Linked DNA regions of Homo sapiens: region 2 is linked to region 1. Evidence: promoter capture Hi-C in 16 types of primary human blood cells and fetal thymus (Javierre and others, 2016). All regions are on one chromosome and are shown on one strand. The core of a region is centred on a gene start or on the middle of the fragment in contact, and the rest is flanking DNA. Distances in the headings are between cores, read along the strand shown.

Region 1 (4,655 bases), core at 1,419-3,918:
GCCTACTCTTACTGGAATACATTCGATAACACAGTGTATATCATAAATGCACCAAACAGTAAGAATTATTATCATATCAAAAGCAGCAATTACAAAAGAAGCAGTGTTAAATTTTAAACAGAATGAAAGATTAAACCCTTAGATTTGATAATCATATTAATAAAGAGAAGTAAATCTTATCAATATAAGTATTAAGTACTAAGTAGTTGTATATTTCACAATGTAAGTAAATCTTATATTGAAGGAATAAAGTCTGCATAATAGGAGCTCATTAAATAGCAACTTCTATGAGCAACAGGACAATATTATGTCCCTGGCATTTGGACTTAGACAAAAACCTTTGTGGAATCATAGCCTGTCCAGGTATGTGCTGTGTGACCCTGAGCAGGTGATATCATCTCTCTGAGACCCTGTTTCCTAGTATGTTGGGTATTGAAAACTTATGTCACAGGGGCCTGTGGGGGTTACAGGAGCCAATCTGTGCAAAGAGCTCAGCAGGTGCTGAGTGCTCAGCAAGTTACAGCTACTGGAGTTAAAATCACTACCACAGTGGAGAAGAGCCCTGGCAAAGGCTGCAGTCTCCATTCTACCCACTGGGAAATCCGAACGGCTGACCAGCTCCCCTGTCTTTCCCAAACTAGGATCCCAGGAATTAGAAATGGTGGTGCTTAGGTGGGTGCACAGCAGCATCTAGTGGACTAGAAGGAGAACTGAAGAAGTGTCACAATGACATCGGGAAGAGAAAGTTTTAAGGCTGGGGAAAAGGTTGGCAGAGAAGTCAGGAAGGAGGCCTGCATGTGCCGGGTGTCCCCTGTGGGGAGATCAGATGAGGTACCTTAACAGTTATCTGGACCTCAAGCCCCCATGTGCTAGCTGAGGGCGTCCTTCTCCCTCCCCAGGCCTCCCTGGGTGCTGGGTCTCTGGGTCCTATGGGCTCAGGGGCCCATCTTTTTCAAGTTCTGCTCCACGTGTCTGTGTCCAGCTGAGGGCACTGACCCCACTGCCCCAGTCCCCAGGGCTTAGATGCCAGGACAGTAGAAAGCTGTGTGCCAGGGCATAACCAAGGTGTCCTCCACTGCTCTGGGCCACACATTGGCAGCTGGGCCCTGTGTCCCTCTGACACCGGATCCTAGGGTTTCTGGCTCTGCCATCTCTGCTGTGATGCTCCATTCCAACCATGTGGCTCAGCAGGGAGGGCATTACACACTGTCCCTTCCCCCTTTTCCATACTCCTGCCTTCCTGCATGCCCTGCACAGGAACCCTCTTCCCTTCTCCTTTTGCCAAAAGAATTCAGAAGATACCAACTTTCTCCTCTTTTCCTGTCTGCAGTGGAGGTCCCGGCAGGACCCCCTCCTGAGCTGTGAGGGTTAAATGGGAGAAGGTGTATTGAGCTTGAAGCACTGGCAGGTCCCACAACGAATGCTCAAAAAATGGAAGCCTCTGCCACCATCTGCATCATCCCCATCAACCACAGGAGCAAAGAGCCCGCCTTTTCTGAGAAGAGCATTTACATATTGATAGAAATTCCGCGGTTTTATTTATCATCACGTCAGTTTTAAGGATGTAAGTAGGTACACATATACATATGTATCTAAAATATATTAAGTTTTTAAAAGTAGGTTATTAAAGGATATGTACAAGACACTCTAGATTTTTTTTTTTTTTTTTTTTTTTTGAGATGGGAGTCTCACTCACTCTGTTGCCCAGGCTGGAGTACAGTGGTGCGATCTTGGCTCACTGCAACCTCCGCCTCCCAGGTTCAAGCAATCCTCCTGCCTCAGCCTCCCAAGTAGCTGGGACTACAGGCACCCGCCACTGCGCCCAGTTAATTTTGGTATTTTTCGTAGAGACGGGGTTTCACCATCTTGGCCAGGCTGGTCTTGAACTCCTGACCTCATGGTCCAGCCGCCTCAGCCTCCCAAAGTGCTGGGATTACAGGCATGAGCCACTGTGGCTGACCAAGATGCTCTAGATTTTTAAAATAAATATACATACTCCACATGCTCAAATATAAGCTGAATCTGTAACCCAGCAGCTTAGCAGCCTAACCTCAAACCGCATTTTAAAACTTTTTTTCCTTTCCCCTTTCCTCTCTTCTGCTAATCTGAAGATGTAACTTAGACAAAGTATAGACGTGTTTCCTCTCCTCTTGAAATCCAGCCTTGGAATGTGCTGTGAACCTCCACCCCCTTTCTTTTCCTGTTCTATGCCCCCATGCCTTATGCACATTTATTTACCTAGTTGTTTGGTAAGCACACACCATACTCACTTATCTGGTCACATATTTCCTTAGAAGCTTCAGTAGTCAGATCCTGATACGAACCATGCACCTCCTCCAGCCATGATGACGCCGGCCACTTCCACAGATGGAAAAATAATTCAGGACAAGCCACTGGAGGGGGTCACACCACCTGACACCTCCCAGTCCCCCTGCCTCTTTTGCCTTCCAAATCCTCCCTTTAAAAACCGCTTTGGCCGGGCGCGGTGGCTCACGCCTGTAATCCCAGCACTTTGGCAGGCTGAGGCGGGTAGATCATGAGGTCAGGAGATGGAGACCATCCTGGCTAACACAGTGAAACCCTATCTCTACTAAAAATACAAAAAATTAGCCGGGCGTGGTGGCGGGCACCTGTAGTCCCAGCTACTCGGGAGGCTGAGGCAGCAAAATGGCGTGAACCCGGGAGGCGGAGCTTGCAGTGAGCCGAGATCACGCCACTGCACTCCAGCCCGGGTGAAAGAGTGAGACTCTGTCTCAAAAAATAAACAAATAAATAAATATCTTAAAAAATAAAATAAAATAAATAAAAACCCCTGCGTTCATCCGAGCGCAGTGGCTCACGTCTGTAATCGCAGCACTTTGGGAGGTCAAGGCCGGAGGATCACGAGGTCAGGAGATGGAGACCATCCTGACTAACGCGGGGAAACCCCGTCTCTACTAAAAATACAAAAAATCAGCTGGGCATGGTGGCATGTGCCTGTAGTCCCAGCAACTCGGGAGGCTGAGGCAGGAGAATCGCTTGAACTCAGAAGGCGGAGGTTGCAGTGAGCTGAGATTGCGCCACTGCACTCCAGCCAGATTGGGCGACAGAGCAAGACACCGTCGCAAAAAACAAACAAAAAAAACCCCTGCGTTCTTTCCTCACGTGGAAGAGTGGAATTGCTCTCTGCTCTTGCCCTTGCTAGCATAGATTATAAAATTCTTTCTTTTTAAATCACATGTCATTATCATTTTGACTTCTTTCTACAAGCAGTGAGCAGCTGGGCCCTTTTGCTGGTTACAACATGAGTGACTGGGGCAAATACATCAATCAAGGTTTATCAAGCCAGATTTAGGTTGTTTCTGGGAAAAACACGAGCCAAACATGCACCTGTGGCTATTTTTCTGAAAAGGTTTTTCAGGAGATTTCCTATTTTTTTTAAGAAACTTTATTTTATTTTATTTTATTTATATCTCTATGTATTTATTGAGATGGAGTCTCGTTCTGTCGTCCAGGCTAGAGTGCAGTGATGTGATCTCTGCTCACTGCAGCCTTCGCCTCCCGGGTTCAGGCGATTCTCCTGACTCAGCCTCCTGAGTAGCTGGGATTACAGGTGCATGCCACCACACCAGGCTAATTTTTGTATTTTCAGTAGAGACGGGGTTTCATGATATTGGCCAGGCTGATCTCAAACTTCTGACCTCAAGTGATCCACCCACCTTGGGATTACAGGCGTGAGCCACCATGCCCAGTCGGGGATCAGAGTTTTTAAAAATGATTTGGTGGGTATGGGCTCAGGAAGTAGGGAGTGCTTATTGGTCGGGTTGGAGATGGAATCATGGGGGTGGAAGTGAGTTCTTGCTGATTTCTCTTCCTGGATGAGATCGCAGGACTGGTTGAGCCAGATTATCAGTCTGGGTGGTGTCATCTGCTGCATCGGAATTCAGGGTATGCAAAATATCTCAAGCACTGATCTTAAGTTTTGCAACGGAGATTTTATTCCCAGAAGCAACTTGGGGAGGTTCAGACTCTTGCGGCCAGAAGCTGCATGGCCCCTAAGCCGTAATCTCTCATCTTGTAGCTAATTTGTTAGTCCTACAAAGGCAGGACAGTTCCCCACGCAAGAAGCGTCTTTTTTTCAGGAAAGGACTATTATCAGTTTTGTTTCAGAATTTAAACTATAAACAATTCTTCCCCAAGACTAGTTTGGCCTATGCCCAGGAATGAACAAAGACAGCTTAGGCGTTAGAAGCAAGGTGTGGTCGGTTAGGTCTGATCTGTTTCACTGTCATAATTTTCTCAGTTATGAGTTTTGCAAAGGCCCTTTCAATGGGGTGACTATAGTAAGTTAATTTTCCTCCTCTTTCTTCTGGTTTACCCAAGGGCATGTGGAGTCATAGAACTGTCCAGCAGGCACTGAAAGTAAAAAGTCTGTGATAAACCACCTAAATTTCTAGCTAGGCTAGTGGGAAAGGGGTCTCCTGCACATCAAGGAGTAAGGGGATCATCCTTGGTTTGTTTTGTTTTTATCTCCCCAGTTGCAAAGCTGTCCTGCAGCCTCAGCAATGGCAGAGGGACCTAAAGCCCTGAGAAATCACTTGGCTCACTGGGCAGAGGAAAAGGAAAGAGACTTCTGCATCTGAAAAGTATAGGGGAAATCTCTTTTTGTTTCTTCC
Region 2 (4,655 bases), core at 1,170-3,669, 250 kb after region 1:
TAAGGCACGAGAATCACTTGAACCTGGAAGGTGGAGTTTGCAGTGAGCCGAGATTGTGCCACTGGACTCCAGCCTGGGCTACAAAGTGAGACTGTCTAAAAATATAAAAATAAAAAATAAAATAAATAAAAAATAGTGGACATGTCCACCCCAAGAATAAACAGCATCTAGCCTCTCCGTGAGTGGGCTTCAGAAAGGTTTTCAAAGAGGCTAACATCTCTTAAATCAAGTGTAACATATGTGATAACATTTAAAAGAAGACTTCAAAGCATACAGTTAAATTGGTTTCCCTGTATTTTACAGCAGGTTAAATGAAAACCTGAGAATCATAGGTTTCTAGGTTTGGCTAGGACTTTAAAATATTACGGAGCCATCTACTATGGTGGTTTAAAAACTCCTTTTACTAGGCCGGGTGCGGTGGCTCAATCCCAGCACTTTGGAAGGCCGAGGCGGGCGGATCACAAAGTCAGGATTTCAAGACCAGCCTGGCCAACATAGTGAAACCCCGTCTCTACCAAAAATATAAAAATCAGGCAGGTGTGGTGGCATGCACCTGTAGTCCCAGCTACTCAGGAGGCTGAGGCGGGAGAATTGCTCGAACCTGGGAGGCAGAGGTTGCAGTGAGCTGAGATCACGCCATTGCACTCCAGCCTGGGTGACAGAGTGAAACTCTGTTTCAAAAAAAAAAAATCCCAAAAAACTCCTTTTACTTTTCTTTGTTCATTGATTTATTAATTCATTCATTGACTCATTTGTGCAACTGTGTTTACATATCAGACATCTGCTAGGCATTTGCAATGGTAACTTGAGAGGCAGTTCAAGATACAAAGCAGATGACGGGTCACAGAGGCACTGTTTGGTGTAGAGGAGCGTGGACCAAGGGACTTAATTTATCTTGTCCTTCTCCTTTTACTTCCATGCAGTATAGTCCCTGAGGTGGGTTCAAGGTTCCCAAAGTGGGGTGACATTTGTGTACCATTGATCCTAATTCAGCAAACAGTTGCTCTTGGTGACTCTTTTCCCAGGAAAATCCATGCAGAGAAGCATTCATTCCACATTTGGGCAGGTGAGCTGGTGTGACAGTGTGAGGTTAATGTGGATGTAGCAGGTGCCTGCCCTCGGGGTGGAGCTCCTCTGTGTGGCCCAGTGAAACTGATAGAGGTCTTTGGGTGAGGGTTGGTAGATTGAGCCTCTGGCTTGTGAAACTGATAGGGGTCCCTGGGTGAGGATTGGTGGATTGAGCCTCTGGCTGAGCACTTCACAGCTTTTTGATTCTGTCATTCAGTAGCCACAGCCACAGCTAGAGTAACTCATCTTATGTCCCAGATTGCTTAGAGTCATTTGGCATGAGACTCATGGTATCTGGACTTATTTAGCATCTTAGAGAGTGGGCAGCAGGGGCAGAAGAATATTTCTTCATTCATTTACTTATTAACTCAGCAATGATTTATTTCTCTATTCAGTAATCATGTATCTGGTGCTTTTATGTGCCAGGCTGCTGTGCTAGCCACTAGGGATTTGGGGTGTCCTCTGGCGGGGCTTACCATTGAATGGGAGAGGCTGATGTGAAGGATGATGTCGTATTAAATGTAACAGTGTAGCTATGCTAAGTCCTGCCAAGCCTCCGAGTGTATGTGGTGCTCTGTGAACAGGTAGGAGGGGGTTGTACCGGGTTGAAGGGAGACAGAGATGTGTGAACTGTGGTCTGTGTCTGTGTGTGAGCAAGATGGTTGTCCCAGAGAACAGGCATAGCATGTGCAAAGGCCCTGAGGAGGCATTTGGAGGGCTTCAAAGAGGTACAATGTCCAAATACCGCTAATGTAGCTACCAAGTGAAGCACATCACTTGGTAGCAGCTACCAAGTGAAGCACATCACTTGGTAGCAGCTACCAAGTGAGTCAGCACCTCGAATGCTCAGTAGCTACCTCCTCTAAGTCAAGTGAGTTATGCAGGACCACCAGTTCCAATTCTAGGCAATCAGTCCTATTTGCCCCCACATCCTGCATTTAAAAAGTGACATTTGTTACCCAGTTGTAATTGCTTGTGTGTGTATGTGTGTTTCTTACAGAAGACTGTGAGTTGCATGGTTGCAGGGGATGTTTCATGCTCATCTTTGTACACACCGTAGGTGCTTAATAAATGTATCAGAGAACAGGGAAGATTTTTATTGAGCACGTACTGTGGGCTCAGCACTATTTATGCACACGTACATATAAGGCTACAAAATCGAAAAGCCAAAAGGAGCATACGTTTTACAAGCTGGAGTAGATGCCAGCGGATGCATTTGGAGCTTGAAAGCTTTTGTGCCGTCTGTTCCCATACTGCCAGAACTCCGGAACTGAGGCTGTCATCCTGTGTCTCCTTAGACCTGCTGAAACTCAGCCTGCTGGGACGAGTCTTCTTTCCCCCTTCTTGTTTCTGCCATGGAAGTGTGTGGACAGCCCCATTCATGATGACATGTGACACTACTGGCTTTTCCCGGCAGTCACACCCCCTGACCCAGGGCCTGCCAGCTTGGGTAAGTGGGGCCCATGCTTGACCCAAGCTTGAGGGCTGGAGTGTCCAAGGGCATGGAGAGTGCCTGTGAGTTCTGCCAGAGAATTTTCTCTCTGTCCTTTGAATCCTGTCATTGTTCTGTGTCTCATGTCCTGGCTATTACATATGTATCCTCAATCAGGGTTTCCAGAGGTCACAGCTGCTCTCCCAAAAGGCCAATGGCCCTGATTCTGGGTGGGATTCTGGAGCCTTAGAACTCTGGTTGGGATCTTTGTGTATGGAAATTCTCCAATTCTCAGATTCTTCATATCTGTCCCTCCATTCTACCTCTAACCGTGTCTAGACAGTGTTCTCCAGTTTGGGGAGATGGAATCTGTTAGCACCATCGAGCGTGTAAGGAAGAGAAAATATCAAAATCTGTCTGCCTTTCTTTCCTGGAGGCTGCTGAGTGAGTCAGAGCCGGGGGAGCAGTGTGGGGCCCCAAGGAAGGGAAGTGGAGAGGCTTGTGTTTAACTAAAATACCTTCTACTTTTTTAGTCCATCTAGGTGGGGGCTGGCTGGGGGCAGTTTCACAGGGAAGAAAACACTGGCATGAAGAGAGCCTGGGGGATCGAGAACAGCAACTTACCTGGCACTTTTTAAGACCAGAAAGGAATAAAAAATAATTTTTAAAAAGACAGAGCTGAGGCTGGGTGTGGTGGCTCAAGCCTGTAATCTCAGCACTTTGGGAGGCTGAGGTGGGCGGATCCCCTGAGGTCAGGAGTTCGAGACCAGCCTGGCCAACATGGAGAAACCCCACCTCTACTAAAACCACAAAATTACCTGGGCGTGGTGGCACATGCCTGTAATCCCAGCTACTCCGGAAGCTGAGGCAGGAGAATGGCTTGAACCTGGGAGGCAGAAGTTGCTGTGAGCCAAGGTCGCGCCATTGCACTCCAGCCTGGGCAGCAAGAGTGAAACTTGGTCTCAAAAAAAAAAAAAGACAGAGCTAAGTGGGTGGTGGACTTGAGGTTAGGTTTCAGCTGGGTGATCGTAGGCAAGTCTGGCGACCTCTCTGGGCCCTTTCCCTTCATCTCCATGAGGGAGATAACGATCATTCCTTCATTCTTGACTTTTGGAGTTGCTGGAGGGTTAATGAGAGAGGAGGTCCCCTGCTTTGCGAAAACAGATCTCATAGCAGGGTGAACAAGAGGCTTATGCCCCAAGCTACTACAAAATGGGGTCTCCTAATTGTACCCACTAAATAGGGTTGTGAGGAGGATGAGATGTATAAAACACAAGAAGCATGTGGCATAGCTCGAGATCTCACTCATGGGAAGACCTCACTGTTGGGCGTTTCTCTTTCTATTAAGAGTATGAAGGCAGTCAGCATAATATGCGTGTTCAACAGAAAAGAACCACAAAGCAAACAAATAATGAAAGCAGGTTGAGTGAGAAAAATGAGAATGGCTTCTTTTTATGGCATCTGGAAGGGTGGGGGAGGGGAAAGAAAAGGGACAAAGGGATGATTGGGTGGGGTTGGTGCCTAGGGCATGGGTTCCAAGGTCACTAACCAGCTTTGTGCTCCCAGGCACTCCTGAGCTGCATTGCTGTGTGACCTGCAGCAGGTTACTTGCCTTCTCTGTGCTAGATGCTTAGCACACACTTGTGATTAGGATCACCTGGGATGTGGGCAGGCTCTGCAGTGGGAAAACAGGGTAACAGGAGTGAGGGAATGTGAGGACGCTCCCACTGAGGCCTATTCAGGGAGGAGCATGTGTGGTGTGAATTTGGTGTCAAACCTGGTTTTAAGTCCTGACTTCGCCTCTTGCTTCCTGGGTGACTCCAGTTACTTGGCCTCTCTGAGCTGGTTTCCTTATCTGTGTAGCAGAGATCACTGCTTTTTGCCATTAAGTGCTGGCCTCTAGATTAGCTGTCAGGGGAAAGTCCTCCAGAGTGTTGATGCCTTTTCTACACCCTTGGAGCTGGAACGAACTTCAGGGATGGGCGTTTAGTCCACTCCCCTCGTCCAGAGCTCAGAGACGGGGAGAGGCAGGCCCAAGCCTGCCGGGTGAGGTCAGCAGAGGGCTGTCGTATGGAATCTGGGGCTCAGGACTCTGTCCCATTTCTCTAAACCATTCTGCTTCAACCCAGACACTGACTGTTTTCCAAATTTACTT

What was found. The method cuts DNA at HindIII sites, captures the fragments that hold promoters and counts their contacts. A CHiCAGO score of 5 or more calls a contact.
Region 2: a fragment that was not itself captured here is called in contact with the fragment with the promoter of PIWIL3 in region 1 in 4 of 17 cell types (M0 macrophages, erythroblasts, M1 macrophages and 1 more); the score reaches 6.8 in M0 macrophages.

The regions. Positions count from the first base shown.
Region 1 is chr22:24,772,052-24,776,706 of GRCh38, forward strand. PIWIL3 (piwi like RNA-mediated gene silencing 3) reads right to left here and starts at 2,669. Exons shown (of 21, transcript NM_001255975.1): 1 at 2,271-2,669. The HindIII fragment of the contact is 5,025 bases long and covers 2,296-4,655 here.
Region 2 is chr22:25,023,267-25,027,921 of GRCh38, forward strand. KIAA1671 reads left to right here. Exons shown (of 13, transcript NM_001145206.2): 2 at 2,367-2,518. Among named protein-coding and RNA genes, the nearest start is that of KIAA1671, 73 kb to the left of the region's middle. RefSeq lists an enhancer at 2,682-3,881. The HindIII fragment of the contact is 247 bases long and covers 2,297-2,543 here.